Regions from separate parts of the Homo sapiens genome. Here regions 1 and 3 are each linked to region 2. The links are contacts of gene promoters, found by promoter capture Hi-C in blood cells and fetal thymus (Javierre and others, 2016). All regions are on one chromosome and are shown on one strand. Each heading gives the region's core, a stretch centred on a gene start or on the middle of the fragment in contact. The rest is flanking DNA. Distances are from core to core; before and after follow the strand shown. Region 1 overlaps ELK3 (ETS transcription factor ELK3). Region 2 holds the start of HAL (histidine ammonia-lyase). Region 3 overlaps SNRPF-DT (SNRPF divergent transcript).

What was found. Contacts are between HindIII fragments. The CHiCAGO score rates a contact against its expected background, and 5 or more counts as called.
Region 1: a fragment that was not itself captured here is called in contact with the fragment with the promoter of HAL in region 2 in 2 of 17 cell types (monocytes and M0 macrophages); the score reaches 8.2 in monocytes.
Region 3: a fragment that was not itself captured here is called in contact with the fragment with the promoter of HAL in region 2 in 1 of 17 cell types (endothelial precursors); the score reaches 5.1 in endothelial precursors.

What each region holds. Positions count from the first base shown.
Region 1 is chr12:96,213,511-96,216,579 of GRCh38, forward strand. The region is part of intron 1 of ELK3 (ETS transcription factor ELK3); the gene reads left to right. Among named protein-coding and RNA genes, the nearest start is that of ELK3, 21 kb to the left of the region's middle. The HindIII fragment of the contact is 561 bases long and covers 1,084-1,644 here.
Region 2 is chr12:95,994,991-95,998,141 of GRCh38, forward strand. It overlaps HAL (histidine ammonia-lyase), which reads right to left and starts at 1,354. Exons shown (of 21, transcript NM_002108.4): 1 at 1,088-1,354; 2 at 674-1,001; 3 at 1-3. The coding sequence starts at 920. LOC102723340 (a long non-coding RNA gene) reads left to right here and starts at 1,492. Exons shown (of 4, transcript XR_945237.4): 1 at 1,492-1,640. RefSeq lists enhancers at 1,567-1,736, 2,961-3,151. The HindIII fragment of the contact is 1,685 bases long and covers 1-1,485 here.
Region 3 is chr12:95,851,616-95,854,476 of GRCh38, forward strand. The region is part of intron 1 of SNRPF-DT (SNRPF divergent transcript); the gene reads right to left. Among named protein-coding and RNA genes, the nearest start is that of SNRPF-DT, 5.8 kb to the right of the region's middle. The HindIII fragment of the contact is 767 bases long and covers 1,074-1,840 here.

The sequences.
Region 1 (3,069 bases), core at 114-2,613, 220 kb after region 2:
TCGAATGGTTGTAAGACATTTTCTCAGCCAGTGTTAACGAAGCCATCATTTACTACTCACCCATATAAAAGTCACTGACAAACCAATTGAGTTACTTCTAATTTAGCCAGAGACAGCATAGTTCCAGAAGGAAAGAGGGGTGTTCCTACACACAGTAAATTGCATATGTTGTTATTTCAGTGGTTGTCAGTGATTTCCTCTGAAAAATCTCTCTTTTTTTTTGTTTTGTTTTTGAGACAGGTTCATGCTCTGTTGCCCAGGCTGGGGTGCAGTGATGTGATCACAGCTCACTGCAGCCTCAAACTCCTGGGCTTAAGTGATCCTCCTGCCTCAGCTCCCCAAGTAGCTGGGACTACAGGTATGTGTCACCACATCCAGCTAACTTTTGTGTTTTTTGTGGGGATGGGGGTCTCGTGTTGCCCAGGCTGGTCTTGAACTCCTAGGCACAAACTGTCCTCCCTCCTCGGTCTCCCAAAGTGCTGGGATTACAGACATGTAATCCGTTCATTAAAAACCCAGTAATCCTTGCATTGTGCTAGATATTACATTGTGCTAGATATAACATGTACAGGCATGTAATCCCAGCAACCTTTCTCTTTCCCAAGATGGAAGAGTTATTTAAAAAACATTGCAGACTGGGCCAGACACGGTGGCTCACGCTTATAATCCCAGCACTTTGGGAGGCCGAGGTGGGTGGATCACCTGAGGTCAGGAGTTTGAGACCACCCTGGCGAACATGCTGAAACCCTGTCTCTACTAAAAATACAAAAATGAGCCGGAGGCAGTGGTGTGCGCCTGTAGTCCCAGCTACTCGGGAGGCTGAGGCACGAGAATCACTTGAACCTGGGAGGCGGAGCTTGCAGTGAACCGAGATCACACCACTGTGCTCCAGCCTGGGCGACAGAGCAAGACTCTGTCTCAAAAAACAAAACAAAACAAACAAACAAAAAAAAAAACAGCAAAAACCATTGCAGACTGTAAAGAGTAAGTAAATAGGTGAGCAATACCTACTTTTGTTTACCTTTTTTAAAATGAACAATTTGTAGATATTCACAGAATGCAAATACTTGTTAATAAATGAAAAGCTTGGGAGACATGAAGTTGGCCTCATGCCTTTTTTATACACAGTGATAATGATCAAAATAATTTAAATGTCCTTTGAAAATAAATTTAATAGTCTTCCAACTCACAGAAATAATAAAAAACTTCAGAACTTGTATAAGTTTTTTTTTCAAATATTATCCTTATTTACTTAATACCTTACACTTACTCTGTGCTGAGTTATTGCAGATCCCTAATAATATAAAATGTTGTCTTCCAGTTCTTTGACTGAGGTACAGGGTTCATTTTCTATAATGAAATGGCTACTACCCTTTGTCTTAGACAATGATAGTATCATGACATGGAAATGCATAGCAGATACTGGCAGAGGAGTTGAACTCAGCAGAATTTTCAGTAAGAAGTGTTCAAATCCATCTTCATTTCTCTAACCATGCAAAATTTAACAAACGAAAAAAGACATGGGTACCTCATGAGCACCTATTTTGTTTATTCCTTACCCAGAAGTTTTTCTCCTTTTCTTGGGCTCTCATTGCCTTTTTTTTTTTTTTAAGTTGCCTCGTTTCTTATTTCCCACCACATAGAAGCTTAAGAAAATCAAAGCTAATTCTGCCCCCTCAACTCCCACCTCAGTAAAAATGAAACAAGGAACATGCAAAGGGAAGTGCTAGGTTGCCATCAGTAGAAAGAAGAACAAATAAGTGGGCATTTCGACTTCTAAGAATGGAGGCAAAAACCTCATACTTTGCATAAGGGGTCTGTGCGGCCCTTGCTCACATTAAGACGTCGGGCGCCACCTTGTGGCCGACAGGAAGGAGGTCAGCTTCCAAGAAGAGGCCAGTAGCTTTTCGGTGACAGAGGCAGGAGGCAGCTGGGACACCTGAAGCTGGGATCGTGTCATGTGACCTGACAGCTCTCACGTAGGCGGAGGCGGGCACAGCGTAATGAGAATGATCAATATTTCTGTCAATAGCATCTTTCTTTTTGAGGCTCCGTCGGATTAAAGAATGAATCAAAGTTAAATAAAAACATGGGAAAGACTAAAGAGGGACATAAAACCTTTTTTTTTTTTTTTTTTTTTAAAGAGAGATGGTCTCGCTCTGTCACCCAGGCTGGAGTGCAGTGGTGCAATCACAGCTCACTGCAGCCTCTACTTCCCAGGCTTAGGCGATCCTCTCACCCCAGCCTCTTGAGTAGCTGGGTGGACAGGCGCGGACCACCAGACACAGCTAATTTTTGTATTTTTTGTAGAGATGGGGTCTTACTCTTGCCCAGGCTGGTCTCGAATTCCTGGGCTCAAGCGATCCACCCACCTCGGCCTCCCAAAGTGCCAGGATTACAGGCGTGAGCTATCACGCCTAGCCTCAAAACTGTTTTCATAACTGCATTCTTTAAGTGCAAAAAGCTGAAAACAGAATAAGGGCAGAAAATAATCACTCAGAGTCTGCAAAAATGTCCCTCCCCTCTGTGCCAGAGGTCAAGCGTTTTACTCTCGGCCTCTCTACTCTGTGTCTTTTGCCCTGACCAGCCCGTGAATGCCCTCCTGTAGGGCCCCATCTGCAGCGGCTATGAGCGGTGTTGTCATCATTGTCCCTTGGCTTGTCATTTAGAACATCTTTCTTTCTTCGCTATCTGACCCAACAGCTCTCATGTACTTGACTCTCCTTCCTGCTCCAGAGAAACCACATAGATGGGAGCCGAATGTACCCCAGGGAAGGAGAGAGCCCCAGGGACCCTCTTTGCTGAGGTCACACAGCTTGGAGGCCTCAGGGTCAGCATTTAAACCAGTGTTTGTTAAGCTGGAGTCGGAGAATCAGTGCCCTAGCATCTGAGTTTTCTGCAAGCATTTACGATTTTTTGTGCTTTCATATTTGATGATAGACTACAAAACAGAAGCATACTCCAAGTCACCTTATAAACCACAGTCGCCATGTGGCTGAAGAGTCTCCCTGGATTTCAGTGCCTGTGTGGGGCTCATTGCCTAATGGACAAAGAGCCCAGGTGGGTGCT
Region 2 (3,151 bases), core at 104-2,603:
TAACTAAAACAATGCACGGGAGACTCGTTACAGATCACATTGTACAGCCATGTTCCCCCTGTTAAACCAAGGAACGGCCCATCATTGGCCCATGAATTCTATAGAAATGGCTGCTTTAAAACTGCTTCAGATGGTTTCATGTGGTCTTAGCATCTTTATGTAGGAGGAGAGCAAAAAGCAGAAAGGTAGGTGTCAGGGCAGAGACCAGGGGTTTAGATGAAAGTTCAAGACAGAATTCCACTTCCATCCCCATTCCCAGCTTTATTTTCTTCAAAATCTGAACTGATGCTATGCTGCCGGCCTCCAGTCTGGGGGTGGGGGTGGATTCTTTCGAAAGGCAAAATAACCTCAAAATGATTCAGTCACTGCAAAGGGATTCAGACCTGCAGCCTTGAGTACCAGTCTAGTCTTTGTTACTTACTAGCTGCTGGAGTCTGGGTAAGTTACCTCCTCTCTGATTTCTCCTCCATCAGAGGTGGAGGAGAATCCTACCCATCTCACAGGGTTGTGTGAGGACTTAAGATCCCCAGAGGCGTGGCATGTGCCTGCACAGGGCCAGCCTCGGCAAGCCTGACCTCTGCTCATCATTTTCCCTGAGGTGGGGGTTCAATGCTGCAAAGACTAAGCCAGGCCAAACCGCACCCGTTCGCGGCCCTCTCCTGCAGCCACTCACCCACTTCCACGAACTCGTTGTTCTCTAGGGCCACCTCGAGCCGGTCCTCGTTGTCCAGCAGGCCCAGGCCCTTGCACCGGCGCACAAGGAAGTGCGCGTCATCCACGGAGGTGAAGCCACCATTGTCGGGCTTATTCTTGATATAGCGCCTCACGGCCTCCCGGCCCAGCCAGCCCACAGTGAGCTGCGCGTCCTGGCAGGGCACTGCCAGCCATTCCCCACGTACGTGCACCGTGTATCTGGGCATGGCTCCGCTGCAGCCTGAGGTCCTCAGCTGGTCACAGGAGGGGAGAGCTTTATGCAGGAGTGGCTACCGGGGTGTGGTCAGCTGGAAGGATGAGAATAGACTTTCAAACCACTCCCCCTCCTTCACCTTTACTCATTCATGCATTGGACAAATATTTATTGAGGTACCTGCTGTCCCTTTGGTTTTTGTAGCCGAGCAGGGGCAGGAGCAGGGGATGCAGACGGGTGAGCCTCCTGTCCACTTTCCATCCAGACCTGCTGCCAGAAAGGCCTGGGGTCTCCCACCCTGGGAGGTGCTGTTCTTGTCCCTGATGGCACCTACCTGCTGCTGGCCCCCTTTCTTCAGGGTCCCCAATTTCTCTCTCTTCCCTCGTTTCTGTCTGTGTTCTCTGCCATTAAGGGCAGCTTATAAACACCATGTTCCTGTCTTTATCTGAGATTACTCAACTGTAAAACGTGTTCTGTGGGCCAACTGTGACACTGGGAGTGTGGCAATCGTCACTCATTTGTTTATTCCACAAACATGTATTGAGCAACTACTTCCTGTCACCAGTAAGGTTTTCTGAAGCTTTCTTTCCACCAGGGAAGACTGCAAAGGCCAGAGATCATTTTCACAACTAAAGGTCGTCATCTGGGCAAATGAACCACTCTGACTTGGAGATTAGGGGCTCAGACAGCCGTGGATGAGAGTCCAGCTCTACTACTTATTAGCCTTGATTAGGTGAGTATTACCCTGTATTTCCTTATCAGAAGGCCTAGGGGCTAACTGCCTCCTTCCAGTATGTGCAGGATTTACCTGTGATCAAATCCTGGCTCTGCCATTTGCTAAGTGTATGACTTGTGGGCAAGTGATTTGACTTCTCTGGGCCTCAGTTGCCTCATCTGTAAAATGAAGATAATGGTAATGATGATAGTATATATGTCAAAGGGCTATTGGGAGGATGAAGTCAGTTCATATATGTAAAGCCCTCAACACAACACCTGGCATAGTGGAAATATTATAGAAGTGTCTGTGATTACTAGTATCTGGACACCAATACTCCATGTAACTATAATGCTTTATAAATGTTCTGTATGAATCATAAAGCTATAAAGTTCCATAAATGCTCTTTCATCTTGGCACATGGATATCCCTCACCCAATTAAGCTTCTTCACCACAGATAACTGCTCCCTGCACCCGCCTTATTACCATTGGTATTAAGGAACTCTGGATAGCATGATTACGGCATCAAAGATATGCAGATGCTATTTTGACTAAGCAGCACTTTCATCGTAAGCCAATTTTTAGAGATTTGATTATTGCACTAGAAAAATCCTGAAAAGTCTGTTTCCACTAAATCAGACTTCTGTTGGGAAGAGAGACATGGTTGCTCAAGAAAAACACCTATACTCATACCCAGAGTCCCTCTCATCTGCTGACAGCTTCCCAGGAAGCGTACAAATAGCTACCCTTCCTTGAGCCTTATTGAAACTTGCTCTTCAGATACCCACACCATGACTGCACCCTGGAATTTGTCATGACCTGAATTTGACACACTTAAGAAATCACCCTGGAATCTGTCACGACCTGAATTTGACACACTTAAGAAATCTGAAATTCCAATATTCCACCTTCTGACCACAACCTTCCAGCTGCCCTTTTACTCTAGTCACTGCCAGCCTTGGACCTGACCTCCAGTCAGTCTCTTCATCCCTCCACTTCCCACCAGCATCCTCACTTACTATCCTAGGAAGCTGGTCCCTAGTCGCTCACTGGACCACTCTTTCTTAAGCACTCTGAGATTCCTTTGCATCCCTAAACTTATGTCTACACTTGGAATAACACCCATCCCCTTAGTCATCACAAAAAACAGCCATCTCTTGGAAGGATTGCTTAAGCCTAGGCAGTCAATGCTGCAATGAGTTATGATTATACCACTGTACTCCAGCCTGGGTGAGAGCAAGACCCTGTTTAAAATTAAAAGAAACTGTCATATCTGTTCACCCAGGCAGAAGACACTGATAGAGAAAGTCCTGTGATCACATAGTTTGATGGTATTGCCCTTTTATTCCATCCAGCCCACAGTGACTTTCCAAAACTTTGACCCCTCTGCCAGGACCTTCTCGACATCCACCTCTAATTCTCAGAAGGAGACCTTACTTCCTACATCTGTGAGAAAACTGAGGACTGCACATGTGAACCACCTTAACCTTCTGCCCCACCCCCCCCCATTCATTCCTTGACTCATTTA
Region 3 (2,861 bases), core at 207-2,706, 140 kb before region 2:
GTATACTTATGCACATACACAGAAATGGATAGCTTGTTATCCCCTTCTTTCTCTTTTTATACAGAGGCAGCATATTTTGCAAATTATTCGGTGCCTTGTCTTTCTCAGCAATTTATCATGGAGATCTTTCTGTGGCCTTGACACTCTTGAACATTGCAGGCCACTTTGTTCCTCAATGTGGTTTGTCTGATATTTCCTGATTACTAGATTCAGGTTATGTGGCTTTGGTAAGAATATCACAGAATGCATCTTTTCTTTGCATCTTATCATGTGGCACCTGATTTTGATTTTCCAGTTGCTAACGATAGTTGTTTGATCACTGGATTGTAATAAGATGGTGTCTACCAGTTACTATAGTGAAGAAGACTGAAAATAGCCAATGTTCGAAGGGATCCTGATTCCTTTAGTGGGAAGCAGTTTCTAGAAACTAAAACCTGAGCATTAAGTATGCTCATTATTATAGGTTGATTCCTTTGATTAGTGCCCTTGTAACAAATTTCCCTTCCTGCCATTGTCCCCTCCCCTGCATTTCTTCTTCATTCCATTCAGGTTCTGACACCGTGTGCCAGGTCATTCTGCATGGACATCCTCCTTGCTTCCTTTAGGCTCTGACACTCCACAGCAGGCCACCCTCTTCCCCGCAGTGTGGACACCCTCTTAACCCCACTCAGGCTCCAACACTCCCTGTCAGGCCACCCTCTGGGGATGCTTCATCCTACTTGGGCTCCAATGGCTGGTGCTGGGCTGCCCCTCGCCATGCGTGATCACCATCCTCACCTCCTCAGGCACCAACTTCCCATGTTTGCCTGCCCTCCTATGTAGATACCTTCCTCCTCCTGCTCAGGCTCTGACACCCCACACTGGCTGCTCTCTTATGTGGATGTTCTCCTCACTCCATTCAGACCACTGTGACTACCCCCATACCCCAGCACAGGTGCATACTTTGCTTACTCCATCTAATGGTTTTAAAACCACATCTTCAGGAAGGATAGAGGAACAACCTTGTACTAACTCCTAACATCCACTACCACACTGGGAGAAAGAAACAATTATCCCTATGTCATGGGAAAATAAGCTTAGTGAGGGCGGGTAACTTACACAAGTTCCCACTAGTAAGTGTTGGGGGCAGGATTCAAACTCAGATTCGAACCTGGCCTCTAGAACCAGCATTATCAACCATTATGTTGTCAATCATATAAAACAATCATATAATGTGCTATTAAATATACTGTTTTTATTATCTTCTGCTGCCGTATATACTGCCTTCTTTTTTTGAGACAGAGTCCCATTCTGTCGCCCAGGCTGGAGTGCAGTGGTGCCATCTCGGCTGACTGCAGCCTCTGCCTCCTGCGTTCAAGTGATCCTTGTGTCTCAGCCTCCTGAGTAGCTGGGCTTACAGGCATGCACTACCATGCTTGGTTAATTTTTGTACTTTTAGTAGAGACGAGGTTTAGTAGAGATGGGGTTTCACCATGTTGGCCAGGCTGGTCTTGAAATCCTGGCCTCAAGTGATCCACCCACCTCGGCCTCCCAAAGTGCTGGGATTACAGGCATGCACCACACTGCCTGGCCTATACTGCTTTTTTAATATAACTCAATATATATGAACAAATTGTATGCATCCACTCATTTTCTGTCTCATCTGTTTCCCAGGTCCTTGATTGCTAGCTCCCTCCAGCTCCCTCTGCACTTAATGGCTAATAAATGTGGTTTTGGGTCTAGACTAATCTCTTATATCTTGAGTTATTAGGCAAACTAATTTTCTGGTCCATAAAGGGATTGGTCTCCCCATAAATATATAAGGTGCTACTTTTACATTGGTTTTACATTACTTAAACCAAGCTTTTGGGGATAATTAGATTTTGATTGAATATAAATGTAGGAGAACAAATATTTATCGAACTGACCAGATATTGTACTGCGTTGCATATATTATCTCATTTAATGTTCTTCATTTAATGTTAACCCTGTGAGAGTCAGGAGAGAACCCCAACTTCAGGTAGCAAGGAGTAAACCTGCTGTCTCTCCACAGGTGCTGAAAGGAGACAATGAGACTATGTGGATCAGAACAAGACAGTTTACTACACACAGCAAACAGAAGCATTGTCTTAGCCATGTCAGCCTCCCTTGCCCCCCAGGTCCCAAGAGGTGAAGTGATAGACCCAGACAGATAGATGTGCACAGTGGATTCCAGCACAGCTGAAGAATCAAAGCCAACAGCCCAGAACTTTTTGAGCAAGCAGCAGTTTAGCAAACAGCAAACAAGTAGTCCAATATTAGTTATTAGCATTAGTTATTGTAGGTCACATTGACCTACTCACGTGCCTACGTACCTCGCTACAGAAACTATTCAGTATCAGGAGGTGGATAAACACCACAAATATTGTATCCTAATAGCAGCCTTATAAGATGGGTATTGAACTGGGCATGGTGGTATACACCCATAATCCCAGCCACTTGGGAGACTGAGACAGGAGGATTGCTTGAGCCCAGGAGTTTGAGACCAGCCTGGGCAACATAGTTACAGCCCACCTCACTAAAAAAAAATTTTTTTAAGATAGGTACTATCATGATCATCCTCTTTATTGATGAGGAGATTGAAGCAGAGATAAGCTGCACATGGCAGAGTCAGGATTTGAACTCAGACAGTATTGGCTCCTACCCACAATACCAGGTTTCCTTTGTTGGGGCTCAGAAAATGATACCCCGAAGCATACTGCTACTTTGCACTAAAGCAGCAGCCTCAGAACCAAGGTCTGACCTTCTCTCTGACCTTCTCCCACCCCCCATCTCTTGCCCCTCCTCCTCTCCTGAAGCACAGGAAGAGACTTTTCTCTGAAGTTTCCTTATCTACCTAAAGA